Regions from separate parts of the Homo sapiens genome. Here region 1 is linked to region 2. Evidence: promoter capture Hi-C in 16 types of primary human blood cells and fetal thymus (Javierre and others, 2016). All regions are on one chromosome and are shown on one strand. Each heading gives the region's core, a stretch centred on a gene start or on the middle of the fragment in contact. The rest is flanking DNA. Distances are from core to core; before and after follow the strand shown.

What was found. The method cuts DNA at HindIII sites, captures the fragments that hold promoters and counts their contacts. A CHiCAGO score of 5 or more calls a contact.
Region 1: a fragment that was not itself captured here is called in contact with the fragment with the promoter of CHD1 in region 2 in 1 of 17 cell types (total CD8 T cells); the score reaches 13.2 in total CD8 T cells.

What each region holds. Positions count from the first base shown.
Region 1 is chr5:112,858,131-112,862,835 of GRCh38, forward strand. It overlaps SRP19 (signal recognition particle 19), which reads left to right and starts at 3,157. Exons shown (of 5, transcript NM_003135.3): 1 at 3,157-3,287; 2 at 4,378-4,453. The coding sequence starts at 3,247. RefSeq lists enhancers at 2,922-3,216, 2,975-3,054, 3,155-3,454. The HindIII fragment of the contact is 1,456 bases long and covers 1,550-3,005 here.
Region 2 is chr5:98,927,650-98,932,221 of GRCh38, forward strand. It overlaps CHD1 (chromodomain helicase DNA binding protein 1), which reads right to left and starts at 1,358. Exons shown (of 36, transcript NM_001270.4): 1 at 890-1,358. It overlaps CHD1-DT (CHD1 divergent transcript), which reads left to right and starts at 913. Exons shown (of 4, transcript NR_151718.1): 1 at 913-993. It overlaps LOC100289230 (a long non-coding RNA gene), which reads left to right and starts at 1,485. Exons shown (of 1, transcript NR_036530.1): 1 at 1,485-3,360. RefSeq lists silencers at 502-1,131, 1,392-1,601 and enhancers at 1,375-2,273, 1,762-2,091. The HindIII fragment of the contact is 7,543 bases long and covers 1-3,032 here.

The DNA.
Region 1 (4,705 bases), core at 1,028-3,527, about 14 Mb after region 2:
GAATAGTGAATCTTTTTTAGAAGGTTTTCAATTTATCTTGCCCAGATCCATCAGAGGAATCACTATTTGGCAGCTATAGTTTTACAAAATGTATTTCTTAATAAGAGATGAAAATAAAAATTACTATTTGATCTGTAAACTGCAGAATGGATGATGTGTTATCAGGCATGAAAACATTAATCTCCTTCTAGATCTCCATCAGAAACTTAGATGTCTAGAGGTCTAGGTGCATTGTCAATGAGCAGTAATATTTTGAAAGGAATCTCTTTTTTTTTTCTCTGAGTAGTTGTTTTCAACAGTGGGCTTAAAAATATTCAGTAAAGGCTGGGTGCAGTGGCTCACGCCTGTAATCCCAGTACTTTGGGAGGCTGAGGCAAGAGGATTGCTTGACCCCATGAGTTCAAGACCAGCCCGGGCAACATAGCAAGACCTTGTCTCCACTAAAAATAAAAATAAAAATCAGCCAGGCATGGTGGCATGAGCCCATAGTCCCAGCTACTCAGGAGGCTTGTGTAGGAGGATTGCTTGAGTGTGGGAGGTCAAGGCTGCAGTGAGATGTGATAGGGCCACTGCATGCCAGCCTGGGTGACAGAGCGAGACTGTCTCAAAAAAATAGTTCAGTAAACCATGCTGTAAACAGATGTACTGTCATCCAGGCTTTGTTGTTCCATTTAGAGAACACAGGCAGAGTTGATTTAGCATCATTCTAGGGTCTCTAGGATTTTCTGCATGGTAAATGTCCATTGGCTTTAACTTAAAATCACCAACTGCATTGTTCCCTAACAAGATAATCAGCCTGTCCTTGGCAGCTTTGAAGCCAGGCATTGACTTCTTCTCTCAAAGAGACAAGGATTTTGGGTGCTACATCCTAGATGGCATCTTTTTCCAATAGAAGGCTGTTTTGTCTACATTGAAAAACCTGTTGTTTAGTGTAGCCACTAAATGGGGCAGCTCTGAAGCCAGACATTGACTTCTCTCAAAGGGACAAGGATTTTGGGTGCTACATCCTAGATGGTATCTTTTTCCAATAGAAGACTGTTTTGTCTACATTGAAAAATCTGTTGTTTAGTGTAGCCACTAAATGATACTAGCTAATCATTGATCATCGTCAATGATATTAGCTACATTTTCTGGATAACTTGCTGCAGCTTCTCTATCAGCACTTGCTGCTTCACCTTGCACTTTTATGTTATATGTTATGGAGATGGATTCTTTCTTAAACCTCCTGAACCACCCTCTACTAGCTTCCCACTTCTGAAGCTTCCTCACCTTTCTCAGCCTTCACAGAATTGAAGGGAGTTAGGGCCTTGCTCGGATTAGGCTTTGGGTTAAAGGAATGTTGTGACTGGTTTGAGCTTCTATCCAAACCCCTAAAACTTTCTCCATATCAGCAATAAGGTTGTTTTGCTTTCTGATCATTTGTGTGTTTATTGAAGTAATTTCCTTTTAATTCCTTCAAGAATTTTGTCTTTGTATTTACAACTTGGCTGTTAGGTGCCAAGAGGCCTAGCTTTCAGCCTATCTTGGCTTACATATGCCTTCCTCACTAAGCTTAATCATTTCCATCTTTTGACATGTGAGACGTGTGACTCTTCCTTTCACTTGAATACTTAGAGGCCATTGTAGGGTTACTAACTGGCCTAATTTCAACATTGTTGTGTTTCAGGGAATAGGGACTCCAGAAGAGGGAGAGAGATGGGAAATGGCCAGTTGGTCGAACAGTTAAAACATACACAACATTTATCCATTAAGTTCCCCATCTTATCTGGGCATGGTTCATGGTGCCCCAAAACATTATTATTATTTGAGACGGAGTCTTGCACTGTCGCCAGGCTGGAGTGCAGTGGTGTGATCTTGGCTCACTGCAACCTCCACCTCCTGGGTTCAAGAGATTCCCCTGCCTCCCGAGTAGCTGGGACTAAAGGCCTGTGCCACCATGCCTGGCTTATTTTTTATATTTTAGTAGAGATGGGGTTTCACCATGTTGGCCAAGATGGTGTCTATCTCCTGACCTCGTGATCCACCTGCCTCGGCCTCCCAAAGTGCTGGGATTACAGGCGTGAGCCACCGCACCCGGCCTTAAAACTATTACAATAGTAACAGCAAACATCACTGATCACCGATCACCATAACAGAAATAATGAAAAGGTTTGAAATATTGCAAAAATTACCAAATGTGACACAAAGTATACGCTGCTGGAAAAATGGCACCAAGCAACTTCTTTCAGGCGGATTTGCCAAAAACCTTCCATTTGTAAAAAGGCAGTATCTACTCGCAGCAGCAAGTGAAGTGCAATAATGAAGTATGCCTGTAGTGATGGCACATGGTATCCTTCAGAAGTTTTAAAAGGTGAATAGTTTTGTTTCGTTTTTCCTAGACGGAGTCTTGCTCTGTTACGCAGGCTGGAGTGCAGTGGTGTGATCTCAGCTCACTGCAACCTCCACCTCCTGGGTTCAAGTGATTCTCCTGTCTCAGCCTCCGAGTAGCTGGGATTACAGGCGTGTGCCACCACACTCGGCTAATTTTTGTATTTTTAGTACAGACGGGGTTTCAGCATGTTGGCCAGGCTGCTCTCCAACTCCTGACCTCATGATCCACCTGCCTCAGTCTCCCAAAGTGCTGGGATACAGGCGTGAGCCACCGCACCCGGCCTAAAAGGTGAATAGCTAAGTTTCTAACGCAGAGCACACTGAAACACAACGTCTATAACTTTGCTAGTTCTACCACTACAAAAATCCATTTTGCCAAACTGAAAGCAAGCTCTAGAGCCCAGGAACGGAGAAAAATTAAACGTAAGGAGTATTTCCTTCCCTGTCTAACATATATTTGCATCCTGAACCACACAGATTCCCCTCGTGGCACAGTCTTCGCCCCTTAACAGAGAGTAGCTAGTACCACCCATACTCGCTGAGAAACTGGAAACGAGGGAGGGTCGAAGTTAAACCCTTTTTAGTGGCGGTGCATGCGCCCCACATGGTCTTCCCGGCTTGGGAAAGGAATGAGAAGCTTTCATGATTCTCTCGCGAGAAGGGAAGTCTTCATGCCACGTCAGAGACTAGAGATCCTGGCGCCGAGCGACAGGTGCCGGAACAAACAGGCGATGAGAAATCGCGGACGCGGAACCATTTCTTGGGCAGGACTTCCGGCGGAAAAGCGGGCTGTCTCGGAAACTCAGAGCCGGGTTCCTCCCGGGTTTCTGCCGGGTTTCTCCCTGCGGCTCCTGGGTTGTTGAGACTCTTGTGAAGATGGCTTGCGCTGCCGCGCGGTCCCCGGCCGACCAGGACAGGTGGGTTCTGAGGCGGTGGGTCCTCCGAAAGGAAGGGGCTTGCTGTGGTGCTGCAGGTGCTACACCGCGCTTCTCCGCTCCGCGGCCTCCAGAATGGCCTAGCTGATCCAACTCGCTCTGTACGGGCCCCGCGCCTCTCCCTGGCAGCTCGTTTTTCTGAATCCTGCAGCAGCCACCAGGCTCTTCTCAGGGCTCCTGAAATTCCGACCATAGGTAGCCTAGTGTTTATCTGTACGCGAGACAAGGATTTTGGGTGCTACGTGGACATGATATCAAGTAATATAATCACAGTGTGAGAAATGTGTTCTTTTTAAGTATTGTTGCGTTCAGAAAGGCTCATTTGTGAAATTTTAAGGTTTTTAATACCTCGGACACTTTATATAAGAGGGCGGGCCCATTCTCAGGAACTTTTGACGGGCTGCTCTGTCTAATGTAACAGTTACCCAAGTCGTTTTGTTTCTATTCCTGTGGTTTTTTTCCATCCAAGGTAGTGGATAAAGTTTATTTTTAAATAAGTTAAAGTGAGGTAATTTAAAGAAATAACATTAAGCAAATAATAGCATAGGTGTACCAGCAATGATGACGACTACCACGGACCGAAAGAATGTATTTTTGAAAATACTTGTTATCTGTTGAGTGTAGTTGTCCAGGTTCTTGGCGTTTTGAATAAGGAATTGAACAAAACACACAAAGCAAGGCAGCGAAAGCAGATTTATTTTAAACAAAAGTACACTCCACAGGGTGGGAGCCGGCTCCAGCAAGCTACCCAAGAGCTGTTGGTTACAGAATTTTCTAGGGTTTAAATACCCTCTAGACGTTTCCCATTGACCTGTGCCAGTCTGATTGGTTGAGGGAGGGGGATCAATCAGAAAGAGGAGTAGGCCCGCGGCCAGTCTGATTAGTTGCTCGAGGGGACCACTCCGAGGTACTTTGATTTTTCAACTGCCACGCAGAAAAAGGAGGGGTTGAAAAGGGAGTACCCATCTGATATCTAGGCAGCATGAATTGGCCTTTGGTTCCCTGCCACCCGACCCTTTTCTCCTGCCTCTTACTGCTCTAGTGATACCACTTATGCTATTGTCTATGGCAGGTTTATTTGTATCTATCCTGCTTATTTAAATAATAAGAAGACCATCGCAGAGGGAAGGCGAATCCCCATAAGTAAGGTAAGCAAGATGGCTGGCACCTTGATCCTCGAGGGAATGGGGGGTGTCATCCTGGTCGGGCCACGTAATCTTGTTAGAGCCGCAGGGGGTTCTCTTCACTGCATTTATTTAGGGCTTGAGAACACAGCCAAGAATTGGGGTGCGTTCCTCAGTGTTGGTGAAACCAGAAAGGCATTAATTCATAGCTGAAGGGATATTTTTTTAACGTCTCTTAATGAGCCTTTGTTTGTAAAGGAGTGGGGGCAGAGTGTA
Region 2 (4,572 bases), core at 108-2,607:
CAAAGTGCCTTACTGAACAATTAAGTCTTAAAAAATCTAAGTATGTTAACAAACTGCCTTTCCCGTTTCTTCCTTTAAAAAGTTCACTCCCCTTTTCGTTCTTTCCTTTTCACCTTCCTTTCGTCCCTCAAAATGGCTTTCTCTGTACATTTTAACTTCCTTTCCCCTCCATCTCCCTTATCCGAATAAGTCCTCTGAGACCCTTTTCACAACCCTGAGTTCTGAAGCTCCAAGCGCACACAGCGCTGTGTCCTCTCAAGCGTCTCCACAATGACTACCCTAAGTTATTAAACCTCTTCAATCCTCTGTCTTTTAGCAGTTGCTTTGCTCCTGCTAAGTTTTTAAAGCGGCACTCGAAAGAGGTTTGGAAACCATCCTCACTCATCCATCCAGCGCGCTCCAATCAGCCTCCCTCGCGGACCTGCCCCCCTCTCCCAGGGCCTCCATCCCGGTCCAGGAGTCCCTCTTCCCGCCTCAAACTTCCCGCAGACCCGCCCCGCGCCCTCCCAGGCTCGCCCGAGCCGCCGCCCCCTCCCCCTCCCGCCGCTCCCCACGTGCTGGGAGCCCGGGTCGCGGCAGGACCCACGCACCGGCTAAGTGCTAGCCATTCGCGGGTCTCCTCTCGCGGCCCGGTCGGCACCAAGCCGAAGAGGCCGGGGCAGGGCCGCCGGGCCGGCGCAAGGATGCGTTCTGCGGCCCCGGCCTGTACTCGCCGCTCACACGCCCCCTGCGCGCCAGGCCCGTACACCGCCACCGGCACTCACAGAGCCACCCGGCCTTCACCCGGCCGCTGGGCCGCCGCCTGGGCACCGCGCCGCGCCCGCCCTCCGCCCGGCCGGTTCCTGTCCTCTCCGCCACATCCTGACCCGCCCGCCGCCCCCTTTCTTACCGGCGGGCTTGGCGGGGCGGAGGGAGCCGACTCGGGTGGACGGCCTCCCCCGCGCCCAGGCCCGGGATCTCCGCCGCCCAGTCCTAGGGCTCCGGCGTCTCGGGGTAAGCAAGAGTCCGTGCGGGGGAGGGGGAAGGGGACAGACGCGGAGGGGAAGGGGAAGCCCCGGTCCGCAGCACCAACGCGCGATCCCCTGCGGAGTGGAGCTAACAATTCATTATTGAAGCACCAAGGGCGAGGGCAGCAAGAGCTATAAGTAACCAGTCGTCGCCGCCGCCGCCGCCGCCGTCGCGCGCGCGCTCCCGCTCCCTCCGCTTATCTGCCCCCGGCAGCCGCCATGACGCCGAGAAAGCAAGCGAGCGCAACCGTCTCCGTCGTAGCCGCCGCCGCCACCGAGGTCGCCGTCGCCTCCGCCTCCCGCGCGACGTAAGCGCCTCTGCTCACTCCCCTTCCCGACAGAGCGCGAGGCGGGCGGGCGCGCGCACGCCGAAGCCTTTCTGCTCGCGCGCGGGAGGCGGGAGGGACTACGTTGAAGGGTCGTGGGCGTAGGAAAAAAGCGATTGGTGCTGGGGCGGGGCGGGGGGGGCGAGTGCGCGCACGCGCACGAATGGGAGTGCGCACGGCGGATGCGCAGAGGCTGTCGGACTCTGACTGCGCGGAGACCGCTGGACTCTGGTCGCGGCCTTAGTCCGCTGATCCTCGCTTGGGTGCCCGCCCTTAGCGGCCCGGCGTTGAATTCCGGGAAGTGGGAGCTTCAGGCTCGCTCCGTGCGGGTATGGGCGCTAATGTCACTTGGGATGGTTGCGCAAGGACATCGCGGCGGACACTGACAAGGAACCGGGGAGGAACGGGGGTGGGGAGAGACTGCGATGGGACTCGGGAAGCCGGGAAGGGCCGCGCTGAATAAGCCTAAGGGGCCGGGTCGCAAGGAGTGTCGGGTAGCACAGGCCTCGGCTCAGTCGGAGCGCCAGGCCTCAGGGTCCGGGCGGGGGCTGCTGCGTCACACCAGGCAGCCTGGGAACGCAACTGTTGGGCAACCGTGGTGGCCTCTCGCCACCTCTTACGCTTGGGCGATCTGCGATTGACGCATCCTGGGAGCTGATGTCCCGCACGGGCGGGGCGCCGGAGGAGGAGAGAAAATAGAGACCCGGTTGTTGACAGCCTGTGATGCCGCTTGATTCATGTGTGGGTGGCCTGGTTTAGAAATGTACCACCCTTCCTTTCTAGGTTCCTCCCCGGAGGGCGGGGTGACGGGTGCGGCGCCGAATCGCAACAAAAAACGCTGCTCGAGGGATGTTAGTAACTGTCTCAGCTTAAGTTGCTGCCTTTTAGCTTACAGTTTGTATCGTAACTGTAATTGTGGATCTTAGTTAAATCCCTTCAGTGTGTTGGAAACATATTTTTAAGTGTATTTTTGAAACATACTTAGAGCATTTTGAAATGCTTTTTTGAAAGCGTTTTTTAAATCAAAATTCTGTTACACTTTATTTTTTTCAGTCTGCAGATGAACTTGACTCACTCAAGGTTAATGATTTTTGTTTTTTATTTATGTTTGTAGAGGCGGGGTTTTGTCATGTTGCTAGGTTGGTGTTGAACTCCTGAGCTCGAGCGATCCACCTGCCACTGCCTTCCAAAGTGCTGGAATTACAGGCGTGAGCCACGGCGCCCGGTGGCCGAGGTTAATAATAATTAAAAGTTTCTAATCCCATTGTTCAGTTATTTGATTTGGTGTAAAGGCGCACTTTCCAAGTCAGATGAGTTTGTGGTAACATACATTCCCCAAATAATTATTTTTCCCTTGTGGGAAATATTCCAGTTTTAGGCTACCAGCTGTTTAAACAGTTTGGTTCAAATCCTTCAAAAAAATCTCAAAACATAACTCCACATATGTATTTACTACATATTGAAGGGTGTATTCACTTGGAGAAGTAGGAGAAAGCAAACAGATGCCAATGGCCTTTTTGAAAACATGTATCTATCAGCAATAATTGAATAGCAAAACGAAGTGGAACACTACCATCCTTTGCAATATTAGATAGTTTTAATACTGGGTTGTGAGGAATGAAAAGATCATACAAATCGTCATTTCTGAAGTCATTTCTGAAGTCGTCATTTCTGAACTGAGTGCTAATTTTTCATATTAAGCTTTATGTTAATATCCTTAATGAGAGGAACTTCCTGTGCCCGTAATTTCTCCAGAGAAACTATTAACATACACAGAATGTTGTAATCAGAAGTATAGTTCAGTTAATAAAGTCCTCAATTACAACTCTGACATTTTGTCATTGTCTTATGAAAAGAATTACTGTATATACAGTCTATTTTACGTTTTCCGGAAGCACGTCAGGCAGGTTTTTTGTTTTTTTACTACTAATTGTGCCATTGAATATGCTATTCTGTCGTATTGTGCCATCAAACATGCTATTCGAAAAAAGATCTTGCCCAATTTGTAATAAAATATTGAACATTGGAGATTTAGATTTCGAGTAAAATCATACTTTATTGCTTTGCAGAAGTACACAGTAGGTGGAAAATTGCAACAATCTTGCCAGTTCATTTTTTAAAAAGCGTGTAGGTAATCCAAAGATACCTTTTTGATGATTTGTTATCAACATAGTTAAATTTGCAGTGTCACTTTATTTGAATAAACTAGCTTTATCTCTACTTAGTGGTACTAAAACAATAGCCAAACAGTTGATAATCTCAACACATGACTAACGAAAAATTCCACATAATTAACATTAACCAGGAGGTTTTTGTTACTATTTAATTTCTCATTTTTAAAATTTCATATTCTTTGGAAAGAATATTACTTTTCCGGAATCTAAGACAGCATTTTGTGGGTCCTTAATTGTGATATGCTTTACTAGGTAAAGTACTAAATGGGTATCCTTAGGTGGGGATAGGCTGGGAACCACATATCCAGAATTGTGAAATATATAACATAAACAGGATAACTTGCTCCTTTGTTAGCTTTTTGGATGCCAGGGTTAAGATTTTAATTCCATAATTATGTCCTTGTTGCCTGGAGGATTTGCATATGAGAAACCACAAAAACAATCGGGACATTATTAAAATACCCTAGAATCTCAACCTGTGACAGTATTTCCCATGTCCTTGCAAAACCAGAGGAAGTCTTTCCAATATGATTCTTAAATTTACAAAGTCCTCTGAATAGAAACCATGAAATCCTAAGTCATCTTCTAGTGAAGATTTGCTGTACATTTTCTGTTTTCCTAATAAGAAATTAGAGGAGTTTAGTTCCCAGTGTTGGGCAAGGGATAGGACTCAGTCACCTGGAAAGTTCTTTTGTAACTACACGTGCCTGACACTCCTATTCTTCCCCTCTGCTGATATGCAGAATTTCTAGGTTCTAGGTAGTATTTGGGAAGTTTCCCAGATTATTCTGATATCTACCAGCGGCTCATCCACCTTCTTTATGGTCACTGTATTTGGGGATTTTGAATGATAAATTCTTGAATCACTAAAAGCTAAATTTCAAACAGAAAATTGTTAGAGATGATACTAAGAGGCAAGTATGTATAAAATCTAATAGGCATTGAAGAAGATACAAAGATTCCATCCTCTACTGAAAAATTAAGTGTGCACGCAGAGTAAGAAAGAAGGTTAAGTAGCCAACCTCAAAAATATTTAAAAATTATTGCATTGATGCTGTATCACTC